Linked DNA regions of Homo sapiens: region 1 is linked to region 2. Evidence: promoter capture Hi-C in 16 types of primary human blood cells and fetal thymus (Javierre and others, 2016). All regions are on one chromosome and are shown on one strand. The core of a region is centred on a gene start or on the middle of the fragment in contact, and the rest is flanking DNA. Distances in the headings are between cores, read along the strand shown. Region 1 overlaps LINC02322 (long intergenic non-protein coding RNA 2322). Region 2 holds the start of HIF1A (hypoxia inducible factor 1 subunit alpha).

What was found. The method cuts DNA at HindIII sites, captures the fragments that hold promoters and counts their contacts. A CHiCAGO score of 5 or more calls a contact.
Region 1: a contact is called between a fragment that was not itself captured here and the fragment with the promoter of HIF1A in region 2, in 1 of 17 cell types (M2 macrophages). The highest score is 5.7, in M2 macrophages.

What each region holds. Positions count from the first base shown.
Region 1 is chr14:60,323,312-60,329,726 of GRCh38, reverse strand. It overlaps LINC02322 (long intergenic non-protein coding RNA 2322), which reads right to left. Exons shown (of 2, transcript NR_146481.1): 2 at 5,820-6,116. Among named protein-coding and RNA genes, the nearest start is that of LINC02322, 3.3 kb to the right of the region's middle. RefSeq lists a silencer at 1,499-1,808 and an enhancer at 1,919-1,978. The HindIII fragment of the contact is 1,908 bases long and covers 1,149-3,056 here.
Region 2 is chr14:61,693,411-61,700,371 of GRCh38, reverse strand. It overlaps HIF1A (hypoxia inducible factor 1 subunit alpha), which reads right to left and starts at 4,859. Exons shown (of 15, transcript NM_001530.4): 1 at 4,533-4,859. The coding sequence starts at 4,567. HIF1A-AS1 (HIF1A antisense RNA 1) reads left to right here and starts at 4,549. Exons shown (of 2, transcript NR_047116.1): 1 at 4,549-4,665. RefSeq lists silencers at 4,401-4,500, 4,801-5,100 and an enhancer at 5,171-5,540. The HindIII fragment of the contact is 8,611 bases long and covers 1,240-6,961 here.

The sequences.
Region 1 (6,415 bases), core at 853-3,352, 1.4 Mb after region 2:
TTATCTAAGGTGGATATACAATGACTTTCAGGCTTTGGAAATCATTGAAACATAGCTCTTGGATCCTGTGGCAGAGATAAGGGAATCATTCCAAAACCTGGCCACAGAATTGAAGCTGTGTAAGGAGGGAAGTGAGGACATGATGAGGGTGAGGGAGAATTTAAAAGGTGGTAGGGTTAACAGAACATGGTCCCAGGGAAGTTGAGTACCAGAGGCCCTGCATTTTCCATGTGACCTAAGGGTTCCCAGAAATGGAGACAGGAAGTCCATGTTTCTTAATGCCTCACAGTCAAACTCCTACTTTACACAAACCCACGTTACTGGGGAAAGGTTCGCATGTGGCCAAAGCACCCTCCACCAGATAAATGCATAAAAAAGGAATTAAAACTTTATTCTATTCTTTCAAACATAAGGGTTCCTCCATCAGGTATGCCTTTTTCTTGGCAATTACTGAATAATCACAATGATAGCTTCACATGTATGGAGGACCCTCAGTGTGTCAGAATTCTTGTTAAGTCAAAAGGAATAATTCTATTTACAGGAAACAAAGGCAGCCCATTGTCAGGCTGACACTGTCCACAGATTTTATCCATGTAGCTTGCTTCTTGCAAACTCCACGCAGGCAGGGATTCTTACCTGTTTTGTTCAGGTTCCAAGCACCTGGGCTTAGCACATAGAAGGCTCTTAAACATTTGTTAAATGAATGAATGAACCTCAACCTTTCTCACCTTCAGTGAAAAGCACTGCAAGGTGATTGAGGAGAAAATAAGGAAGCCTTAGTCCCTGACATTTGTTGAGAAAGGGGTCGAGGAGATGATGAGGGGTGGGGAGAGGAGGCTTTTCCCATGGAACTCTCCAACACTGCTGCAGAAAGCCAAGCACATGACATGCACCACACGACCCCTAGGTGGTGGTCCTTGCAGCCGATTTCAGAGACCATAGCCCCAAAAGTGCAGAGGGTTCCTCTGTTCCCTCTCCTTGGACAGTTCCCATTAGTCTGTCTGGCCTTACCTTTCTAAAGAAATTTGCCGCTTGAAAATCACAGTGATGTACGTTATTGAGTCCCCAGAACTCTCAATCCCCTCTGTTTTTGCCCATCCCAAGCCCAAACTGGCAAGCTCTCTTTCTGCCCGATCTTCCAGGAAGCTTCCCCAACTGCCACAGTCCTGTCCAATTTCACTGAATTTTATTATTTTCAATAGACATATTTTTTAAATGTCTCTCTAAAAGCGACTTAAGATTATTATGTAAGATTTTTATAAGATTATTAACTTTGTAAGATTTTGCCCATCTGAATCAATCTCCAAATCATAGAAAAAATGTTATTGACCTGATAATCGTGTTTCAATCCGGGGTTTGGAAAAGATGTTCACCACATGGAAATCATGGCTAAGACCCATTTCGCACAAAATGCACACTCAGGCATGGTTCAGTATCACGGTGCAGTGTGTGCGTGTCGGGTACCTCACCAGCCACACTTCGGCTTTGTAAAGGTGGGTTGGGGAGCCGAGTCCTCCCATCCTTTCACAGCCCCCGCAGGCCCTGGGTGAATGCTGGTCTAGTGAATTCACAGCTCCCGGGCAACTCCCAGCCGCGAGGCGGGGCGGCAGGGTGGAGGGAGCCACCCGCGGAGAGGCCTCGACCCCCACCCCAGCGAAGCCTAGGGCCGGGGAGCTGCACCTCGGCGCACCCCGCCTGGCGCCCTGAGCCCGCGTGGGCCCGGGCCGGGTTTGCGGGGAGGCAGCTCGGCTCCCGGAGGTCCTCCCGCAGGCGGCGCCCTCCGAGCCAGGCGCGAAGTGCACCCAGGCCCCGCAGCCCAGCGCCGCGTGGCCATCCAGAGGGATTTGTCAGCGCGCCCTATATAGCCGCAGACAGCTGCCATCTGTTATGTTTAGTAACACCACCACGCCGCTCCCCCTTCCTTGAGAATAAACCCGCCTTGGTCATTAAGCCACGAGGATATTTTTTTAACGACTCCCACTCCCTCTTGCAAGCAGTCTTAGCTCATCAGTCCGGGTCTGAGTCTTGAGCGCCCAATTCTGCTTCCTCACTGCGTCCTGGGCGCTCTCTGAGCTGGACGAGCCATCCACTGTGGGCTTGGGCCCCGGGCAGGTGCTTACAGGAAAAGGCGGAGACAGCGCCTCCCTCCATGGGTGCAGCGAGGAGAAAAATCCGTGGTGTGTGACCATTTTAATGCATCGCATTTCAGTTCTGCAAATGCAAAGTGTAAATTAGGCTAGAACATGATTGTGAATCAGACCAGACGTCATGATTAATTTATCACTGTGCTCCAGATACATCAGCTAAAATAATATGAATTTAAAGTAACGGTTCCTCCCGCCTTTGTGTTTGCTGGTGAACTCTAAAGAATAGATCACTAGAGAAATAAAGGAACTTAAGAGTCCACTCTATTCTCGTATTAGCGGAGCATGAACATAATTAAACATTCTCAATAAGGTTTCTTCCACCGTTTGAAATTAAATTTGCCCACCCACATTTTGTATCCGTCTGTGTAACACTCACTGATGCACCCTGAGCTGCTGATAAACATTGAGGCGGAGATTAGCTTTTTCATATTTCAGGTAACATTTATGATGCCTCAAGTTCTGGTTCCCAAACTGGCTGATTATCAAAATTGTCTAGGGCCTTGCCACTAAAAGTGTGGTCCATGAAGTAGCGGCACGGTATCACTTTTGAGATCGTTAGGAATGCAGAATCTCAGGCCCTACTCAGACCTGTTGATGGGAGTCTAAATTTTTTACAAGACCTGCCCTCACCACATCACCACCCCCATTAAAGTTTGAGAAGAATTGATGTAGTTTTTTAAAAACCACAAATACCTTTGCTCAGACATCTATATATGTTTAGTAAGCAGCCGAGTTGATTCTTATAAGTTGAGTTGTCAAGTTTGGAGGTCACTGGTCTTTGAGGCTCAAGGTTCAGATGACTTTTATGCTGATGACATGAACCAAATTTATTAAATCAGTGGAACTCTCTCTGAAAGTTTGGTACAGGTGAGTTTATCTGTTTAGTCATCCATGAATTACAAGAAAGCTTATTAATTATTTAGTTAAATAATGACACATTTAGTCCTCCAATTAGGAAAGCTCAACACTAGGAAGGAGGATTTTCTCCTTATGTAACTGGCTCATTCACTCCCAGACTGAGTGTAGGCATGAGGAAATCTTTTGCTTGGCCATCAAAGCCGCCCCCACCCCCTTCGAATGTTCTGACTTTCTTTATAACAGTACCTTTCATTCAGAAGAATACAAACATCCCTTGTGCTGCTGTTCAGTGATGTTGAGGGCTGTACTGGAGGACTGTGTCTAGTTCTGGACCTCACAATAAAAGAGGGATGTGGGGACCTTGGCAAAGGTTCAGAAGATATTTGTAAAGGTTATTTTTTAAATTCAGAATGAATCTTCACATTGTGTGGCATTATCTATAAAATGGACATGAAATGAACTTTGACTGTAGCTTGAGATTTTTACTTTAAGAGAAAAGCAATTGTAGAAATAAGTGGAGGAAGAAGAAAGAATGTCTCTTGAGCACAAGTTCTCACCTTGTGCATTAGTTACAATGACCTGGAGAAATTTTTTAAAACCCCAATGCCAGTTAAGTTGGGGGAGTCTTTGTGGTTGGGACCTGAGCATCAATAGTTTTTCAAGTACTCCAGGTGATTCCAATGCACAGCTCCTGAGCAGTGCTGCTGCAACTTTAATGTCATTGGCACCACCTGGGAAGTTTGTTAAAATGCAGATTGTGGCCGGTGCAGTGGCTCACACCTGTAATCCAAGCATTCTGGGAGGCCAAGATGGGCAGATCACTTGAGGCCAGGAGTCTGAGATCAGCCTGGACAACATGGCAAAAACCTGTCTCTACTAAAAATACAAAAAGTAGCTGGGTATGATGGTGCATGCCTATAATCCCAGCTACTTGGGAGGCTGAGACACCAGAATCACCTGAATTCAGGAGGTGGAAGTTGCAGTGAGCTGAGATTGTGCTACTGTACTCCAGCCTGAGAGAGCAAGACTGTGGGGCAAGAGATTCTGCAATTCTAAGAAGCATCTAAGTGAAGTCAAAGCCCTGGTTTTATGAACCAGGCTTTGAGTAGCAAAGGCTAGCGGGGTTTGAAAGTAAACTAAACTCTCTGCCAGGAAAAATCCATGATCTTATTTTCAGGCCATCTCAAAGTCTCCTATGGCTTTATGACACCTGTCAACATGCAAAAGAGATAACTCCAACCACCACATAAGCCAATGAAAAGAAAACCAAGCCAAGTGCGGGTGCAGTGGCTCATGCTTATAATCTCAGCACTTTGGGAGGCCAAAGTGGGAGGATTCTTGAGGACAGGCATTTGAGACCAGCCTGGGAATCATAGCAAGACCTCATGTCTTTAAAAAAAAAAAAAAAAAAAAGTTTAAATTAGCCAGGTGTGGTGGTGTGCACCTGTAGTCCCAGCTACTTGGGAGGCTGAGCCAGGAGGATCACTTGAGCCCAGCAGTTTGAGACTGCAGCTGCAGTGAGCTATGCACCACTGCGCTCCAGCCTGGGTAACAGAGTTAGATGCTGTCAAAAAAGAAAAGAAAAGAAGGAAAGGAAGGAAGGAAAGAAGGCAGGCAGGAAGGCAGGAAGAAAGAAAAAAGAAAGAAAGAAGGAAAGAAAGAATAAAAGAAAGAAAGAAAGGAAAAGAAAAGAAAAAAGAAAGAAAGGACAGAAAAGAAAAGAGACAGAAGAAAAGAAAAGAGAGAAAAGAAAAGAAAAAGAAAAAGCAAACCGGAAGCCAGGGTGAGGAACACTGCTTTGGATGAAAACATTTAACAATGAACAGTATCTCCTTGAATTGGAAAGTATTTATAGGAGAACTTAAAAGAGAGAACTTTTTCTGGACAACATTACCATCCCTATTCTCACAATTCCATTTCTTCAAGATAGCTTTAGTAGTAAACAGAGTTGTCATATGTGTAATGGGGCAGATGATCAAGTGCAGTGGCAGCTGGGGTGTAAGAGCTGCTATATCTATGCTAGTAACATTTGGTCCAAAGCTGAGCCAGCTCAGAACCTAGATGTTTCTCTGAATTCTGGAGATAGTGAGAACCAGCCACTTTGTCAAGAGATTCCATTCAGCTGTCAACATGATGGCACAAGTCGGTAAAGCAAAATTTAAAAATGTTTAAACTTGAAAATGTCCACAGTAATATTTATAGTTAGCCTAAATGAAAAGGCTTTACATGTACTATCTCATTTAATCCTTGCAATAATCTTATAGATAATTACTATTATTATCCCGATTTTACAAATAAGACAACAGAGCTCAGAGAAGGCAAGACACTTGCCCTACTTTGAAACTAAACTAGAAACTAGTGTTTCTAGAAACACTTTCTAGAAACTAGAAAGTGGCAGAGCCAGGATTGGAACCCATTCGTTTGATTCCAGAGTCCCCACATTAAGCTCAACAGTGTGATAACAAAGCTAGTTTGCCATTGGGGATTTTCTGTCAATATTCCTGCTGCTATAAGCAGTGTGTTCATGTTTTCCTTAGTGTTTGGTCTAAATATTTTTCAAAAGCAGTCTTTTAATTTTTTAATTAGCTTGGTTCCCCAACAATAAAGCTCTTTAAAGGTCAGATGTTAACTTAATCCTCTTTGGGTTATCGTTGAAAAAGATCAGCCGAATTGACCTTGACAAAACTGCCTCCAAGGCTTGGGGACAGACAGTCTCTTTGATATCAGTGAACATAGTTAACTGCTGTCATGGTAAGGGGCATTTTCTATGCCTTTGATAGCAGGCAGATTTGTTTTTCTTGACAAGACCCCGAGTAAAAAGACTTAATATCCATCTTTAATGTGAATCGAATCATGCCCTGCTGACATTAGATCCTCAGCCCCAGGGAACACCAGGCTGGCTGCTGAGGGGCTGCATTAGGCCGATTCAATGGCCAAGAGCATGACAGGAGCCGAATTGCACGGCCAGCAAGGGCGGGCTCATCACATGCTCATCTGCCAGCCTGCACCGCAGAGCCAACCCAATGAAAAAGACAGCCAGGTCCGTGGTTCACATGCTCTTCCGTGAGGACAGCCAGGACTGCCAAGGCAGCAACCTAAACCGCAGTTTGCCTGAGAACAGAAATGTATCAGCTTTGAGTCAACACTGTAACAAATAGCTTTATACATAAAAAACACAAAAAGGCATTGCCGCCCAGGGCCTGTGCTGAGACAAAGATGAAGGTGTGCAGAACCAACCTCAGGGGAAATGCTGAGGCGAAGGACACTCAGTGATTGATGTCTGTGCCTGCCGCCTCCTGTCCAAGGGGCTACGGCAGTAACAGCCATGACCCCACCCCTCAGCCTGGCTCCCATTGGCTGGGTATACACATGACTACAGCAGAGCCAGTCAGAGCCCTTCCCTGGAATTT
Region 2 (6,961 bases), core at 3,610-6,109:
AGAGTAGTTAAATTTGCAGAAACAGAAAGTAAAATGGTGGTTGCCAGAGGCTGAGGAGAGGGGGAAATTGGGAGTTGTTTAATGGGTAAGATTTCAGCTTTGCAAGATGAAAAAGTTCTGGAAGTTAGTGGCACAATGTGAATATACTTAACACTACTGAACAGTACTTAGAAATGGTTAAGATGGTAAATTTTAGGTTAATGTTTTTGAACTACGATTTTAAAAAACAATCAAAAGCTATAAGAAAAAAGCCATGAGGTAATCACATTTTTGTTTTTATGAAACAAAAATTTTAAATTTTGTTTTAAAAATTCAGGTTTTAGATACTAGATTTCTCTAAAGGGATCATGTCTGGCAAATAAATAAGGGTTTATAAATTTCTACTGCAGAAAACATGAACATTAATACTCAACGCATATACAAAACAGTTAATTCTTGATGTGTCAAGAGACCAAGAGATATAATTATTTTTAAAATTCCAAAGCCTATAGTTAATTTAAACAATCTGACCATATTTTTACCAAAAATACTGAGCAACAAGAAGCTTGGCTTGTCTTAGTTTCAAATTCTCTTTCTAACCTTCCAGAGTTAAGCAGAAAACACATACACACACTGGGTAAAATCCACCCACTGGATAACTAGTCACAAAGTTTAAAAAATCAATTTCTTGATTGGAAACTCATCCAACATCACATTTAAATTTAGATTTTTTTATCCTGGTTAAGAAACAGACTTATGTTAATCTTAGATAAAGGGATACAGTATTTTAAGTATCTAAATTTAAAAAATTATATACTAAGAGAAGGCATCTATGAACACACAATTTAACCCAAATCTTTAACATCCATGCACATCAATTTTTATTTCACCACCAAACATAATAAACTGAGTTCTTCAGAAAAAAAAAAAAAATCAGTCAAGAGACTAAATAATCCCCCTCAGCTTTCTATACACCACTCTTGACATACAAGAATAGAATGTAACCACAAAATCTAAACCCTGAGCCGTGACACCATTAGAGTCACAGACAATGGCGTTAAAAGTAAAGACAATGGAAGTTAACAGGTAGAAAAGTTGACATTCTCCAAACTGCACAAGGTGCTCTGCAGTGGACCGTAGGAATGAACTCCAATACTTTCTCAGTCTAAAATAACTCGATAGTTCAGTAAATACACACGTGTGGAAGAGTGCATAGACTTCATACAAATTGAGCCACAAAACAGACCAGTAAGACAAGCTTGAAGTCTTGCCTTCAGATGGAACCCAATGGTCTTAACTCTGGAGAAACTCATAAGCAAAGGACAGTTTTTCTACCACGTAGCTGCTTTACTGAGAATATTTTATCAACTCATTATCTTTTACAAAGGTTAATTTTTATAAAATTGTCTAAACTTTGGCATCAAGACGAAAAATGTTTTAACTTACTGCCAGTACTAAGAATGCAGTGTCTTGCACATATCTTGCTTAAATGAACAGTAAGACTAGAATACTGTGTATGTTTGACTCTAGAGTCCAGAGTAAACTCAGTATTCTATTTGGGGAGAAAACACAGGGGTGAGCAATTGTGAAGCAGGAGGCCTCCACTAGAGTAGAGAGCAGATCAGATGCTCAAGAAAAATAACTGATACTAGGTGCCAATATAACCCAAGGATGTACTCTTTTGCCCATTGTAACAGGAAAAAAACGCTTTTCAAGCTCTGGATCCAATGTTAGTCTTTTCACTTTCAGGAGATAGAAAAGATGCATGAAGACACAGAAAAGAAACTAAAGGAAACAGCTGGAAGGACTAGCAAAAAAGAGTTTTAAGAGTTGTGGAAGTTTAAACAAGAATTTTAACAGGTAACATCTATTTTCAAGTACACAGTGTCATCAAGACTCCTGCAATGGGCTAAGTGCTTCACAAGCATTATCTCATTTAACCTTTACAATAACTGCTCAGATGGCTGCTATTCTTATCATCATTTCAAAAGGAGGAAAGAGGCTCAGAGGCATTCAGTAACTTGCTCAAGCTCACAAGTGAAGGGCTGGGACCCTTAACTCAGAGGTATCTGCCTCTAGATCCTATGCTCTTAACCACCATATGCTGCTTCCTCAAACAAAAGGACAATCAAAATAGAATCATAAGGAGAAAAGTTTGCTAATAAATGAGAGAGCTTCTTGACTTTTAATGGCCAAAGTTAATGAAGGAAATTAAGGAATATCTATTCTCAGAAATTTTACTTTAATGATTCAGTAATTATTTGTTTTGGAAAACTCTGAAGGAGTCTGGCCTGAAGCCTGAAACAGAATCATTACTCTCTTGACATTCCCTTAAAAATCTAAAAATCAAAATGCACGTGCTATTAAATAAGTTCAGCCCCTATAACTAGGAACAACATGAAATGTCCTGCGTTAAATCTACAGTATCATAACCATACCCATTTTCTATTCTGATTTCTTCCAATTCTTCAGGTTTTGAGTTTCCTAGACCTTCTTTTAAAAAGACAAATTTGTTTTCCAAACTCCGACATTGGGAGCTCATTTAAAATGAAAAAAAAAATTGCTTGAAGAAAATCTCCGTCCCTCAACCTCTCAGTTATCTTTCAAAAAACTGTAAATTAGTTAGAAAAGGTCATCTATTATAAACAGCATCTAAAAGTGCTGAGTAACCACCACTTATTAAGTGTTTAACTTAATTTTTCAGTTATATCAAGAACTTCTATACTAAGAAATATGAATCCATCCAATCCAAGGTTGCCAAGTTTTCAAATGAGAAAATTTTGAAAGTAACAGATGGGCTGAGGAAAATCTAAGAGCTTATTTAGAATTGGGGCTGATGAACAGTAGCTAATTTATTAATTCGTTTCAAAACTGCTTCTGATATTCTGAACGGATGAATGGCAAAACAATGAGTTCGATACTGTATATAAAAAAAGTGGTACATAATTTAATGCATTGTATTAAGTATGATTCAATATATAATAAGGATAGAAAACTGGCACTACACAGAGGTAATCTGCCTTAGGTTTACAATATAGCAGCTTTATCATTTCATCAAAAGCACTGTAATCACCTCCGCAAAATAAACTGCAATTAATTCCTGGTAACTCTTGGAATTAATCTAGACCTGTTTGCTCACTTTTTGAATTTTATAAGTGACCTTCTCTGCTGTATACAAACTAAGAATTTAATATTCTATTGAAGAAGGACCAGGAGAAGGGATCTACAAAACAGCAGGAATATAAACAAGTTTATCTTCTGCTGATACTGATTAGGGAAATTAATCTCTCTGCCAGAAGAGTGGAAGGATTTAACAGCAAAGCCAGTCTACTAACCAAAACTCTTACTCTAAATCTTCAATTCCTTAAGTGATTTCCTTAAAAGTTAAAATGCCAAAGTGGGCAAAATTGTGTGTGTGTTGGGGGATGGGGGAGTCCGCTCTTAACACCACTGGTCCAACTCACAATTCTTAATCTCTAATGTACCCCTTAGACTCAAACTTCAAGGTGATTTATAAAACTTGCATTAAGTTCTAACCGAGTGATTACTTACTTTAGATATATGTTGACGGTTTTCCTTTAATATACTTCAATTTCAGGAAAATGAGACAGAGTTCGAAAATTTTTGCAACATTTTAGTGCCGCATTTCATTCACTCATCATATACTTTTTTCAGTATCATTAAAACTGCCTAAATTTAACCAGCCCCTACATTTTCATTATTTGAAGAATGAATGAGGCATATATTCATTTATAATATCTGCGTTCTCGTGACAGGTGATATGAACTCAAGTATCCAATTCTGAAGTTCTCTTTAAAATGTTGCCATTTCCCTAAATTCCCATTACTCTGACTCTCAGTCTAGGCAAGTTTTTCAAGGCGATTAAAACGAAACAAAACCTGCACGTGCAAACTAAAAAGTTCGCATCTTAAGGCCATCGCGGCAAATCCCTAATGCACAAAGGCAAAGACACCCGCGACGGCTGGACAACTACAGGACAAGATCGCATCCGACCACGCGAGTCCCTCAGTCGGGAACTCAAGGCCCCAAGTCCACTGGAAAGCCAGGACCAGCGTGCAGGGTCCGCCCCAGGGCCGAGTTTTCAATGGAACTGGAGAGGATGGGGGCGGGAAGGAGCGGAAGCTCCGGGTGCAAACCGCGGCTACCGAGCTGCAGCTCATTTCTCTTCCCGGGGTTTTCAGGCTGGGTAAAGTCCCCTCCGGATGGGGCCACAGAGCAGGCTGGGTTTTTGAGGCGGGTAGGTGGGCGGCGCGAGGCCCCCACGGCCGGCGGGGAGGGCAAGCAGGGCTCAGACCCCGGCCCCTGAAAGCACTTTCGAGGCGTCTCCCACCCCCCACGACAAGATGGCGACGTGGACAGCGGGGGAGCCCGGCCGGCGAGGTTGGGGGAAGAGAGGGGAGGGGAGCAGCAGCAGAAACAAAAAGGCTGCCCCCCCCAATCCCATTAACGCCGAGGCCGGCCCAGGAGCCCAGGGCGGGCAGGCGGGCGGGGTCGCCGGGGGAGAAGGCGGCGGGCCGAGGGAATGGGCTTACTTTTTCTTGTCGTTCGCGCCGCCGGCGCCCTCCATGGTGAATCGGTCCCCGCGATGTCTTCACGGCGGGCGGCCCCCAGGCTCGCTCCGGCCTAAGCGCTGGCTCCCTCCACACGCGGAGAAGAGAAGGAAAGGCAAGTCCAGAGGTGGGGGTGCGAGGCGGGAAACCCCTCGTGAGACTAGAGAGAAGCGGGCGGCAATCGCCGGGGTCCGGGCCCGGCTCCGAGCCTCTCCTCAGGTGGCTTGTCAGGGCCCAGCCCGACACACTGGCCGAAGCGACGAAGAGGGTGATCCTCCTGTCCCCTCAGACGAGGCAGCACTGTGCACTGAGGAGCTGAGGCAGCGTCAGGGGGCGGGCAAGGGCGGAGGCGCGCTCGGGCGCGCGGGGAGGGGAGAGGGGGCGGGAGCGCGCCCGCTCGCCTGCCCAGGCCGGCGCGCGCTCCCGCAAGCCCGCCTCACCTGAGGTGGAGGCGGGTTCCTCGAGATCCAATGGCGAGCGACGCAGGCGGCAAGTCCCCACCCCAGCCCACGCCGCTCTCAGCCAATCAGGAGGCGGTCAGCTGAGGCACAGCTGGGACGGGCTGCGACGCTCACGTGCTCGTCTGTGTTTAGCGGCGGAGGAAAGAGAAAGGAGATGGGGGTGCGGCTCAGCCCGAGTCTGGGGACTCTGCGCCTTCTCCGAAGGAAGGCGGTGCCCGGCTTTGGGAGGCGCTGCTGAGAAGGGATTTCGGTTGCCTGGTCCCAAACATGCATCATATTTTCCTACTCTTGGTGCAGTAATGTAATGCTCCTGCTCTCTTTCTCCTCGGCCTCAGTGCTGGGCACGATTGCCGCCCAACTCTGCTGGGCTCTCTGTTCAAAAAAGCAGACTTCGCCTCGTGGCAGCAAGCCCTTCCTTTGGTCTCGTTGCTCAGATGTGTTACAACGGGGTCTTTCCTTACCAGATTACCTAACCATGGGTCAATGTCACCCACCGCACTCTTTGCCACGGAGCACAGGGGAACTCACCTTGTCTACTAAGTTTTTCTGTGGCGGAGTTTACTTACTGAATAAATGCAATTAAAAATAAAAATGAACTCCTGTTGCTGTAAACTTCAAGGGAAATAAAGTTGCAGGGAAATCTTAAAATCTGAAACTATGTTAAGCATTTGCAAATAGGTATAAATGACTTTAATAAGCATATAAACCAATTTCAGGGAAAGAGTAGAAAAAATGGCCTTTGGCAACTTTGCAAGCTACTAAACAAAACATAATCACTTTTGTCTTTGGAGGCATAAACTTCAAGCCTGTCAGTCTTCTAAAAGAAAAATATGTTTTGAGCCCAACAAAGTAGCATTGCACATATATCTCCACTTGGCGCTAAATTATTTTACTTCTCACCTTTGCCTTATGAGTTTCTTGTTAAAACCTAGCTTTGGGTTGTAAATATAAATATCTGTAGTGGCTTTCAATTGTATTAGCATGTAAAAACAATGGTCTATATAGAAGCATCAAACTCTGACAAGACAACAACCAATGTATACAGCACCTCTTTTTAACTGGTCAGTAGACCTACAAAGATACGATTAAACATTGACCTTAGCGGACAGGGTGGTTCCAGCTACTCAGAGGTGTGAGGCTGGAGAAGCCTGGGTGTTCCAGCCTAGGGAACGTAGCGAGACTCCGTCTCTTTAGAAAATTTTTGATCTTCACGCTACTTTTGTTTTTTCAGATCTACAACACTAAATGATATGTATTATGTCTTGAAAAGAACCATGGGAAATGCCTGAAGAGAAGAAAGAACTAAAAATAATTACTCATAATTTCTTTTTTAATTGTGGAAAGAATACTGTAAATTAAAAACTTTTTAGTTTAACATTCTCAAGATACTGTGTTAAGAACACTGGCTCCAGAATCAAGCGTGAGCTTGTACACAGGCTTTGAATCTTACTGGCAAGTCGTTTAATCTCTCCATAACTCAGTTTACTTATTTATAAAATGGATATAAAAGTGTCTATACCACAGTATTATGGATGGTTAAATGAGATAATAAATGTATACTTAGAACAATATCTGGTGCATAGTAAGCACTCAGTAAATGTTAGCTCTTAGTATTGTTGGTGGCGTTATTATTATTATCATTATTATTATTCTGAGGCGGAGTCTCGCTCTGGCCCACAGGCTGGAGCGCAGTGGCGCGATTTCGGCTCACTGCAACTCCGCCTCCCAGGTACAAGTGATTCTCCTGCCTCAGCCTCCCAAGTAGCTGGGATTACAGGCACGCACCACCACACTCGGATAATTTTTCTATTTTTAGTAGAGACGAGGTTTCACCATGTTGGCCAGGCTGCTCTCGAACTCCTGACCTCAGGTGGTCCGCTCGCCTCGGGTTCCCAAAGTGCTGGGATTACAGGCATGAGCCACAGTGCCTGGCCTATCATCATTATTATT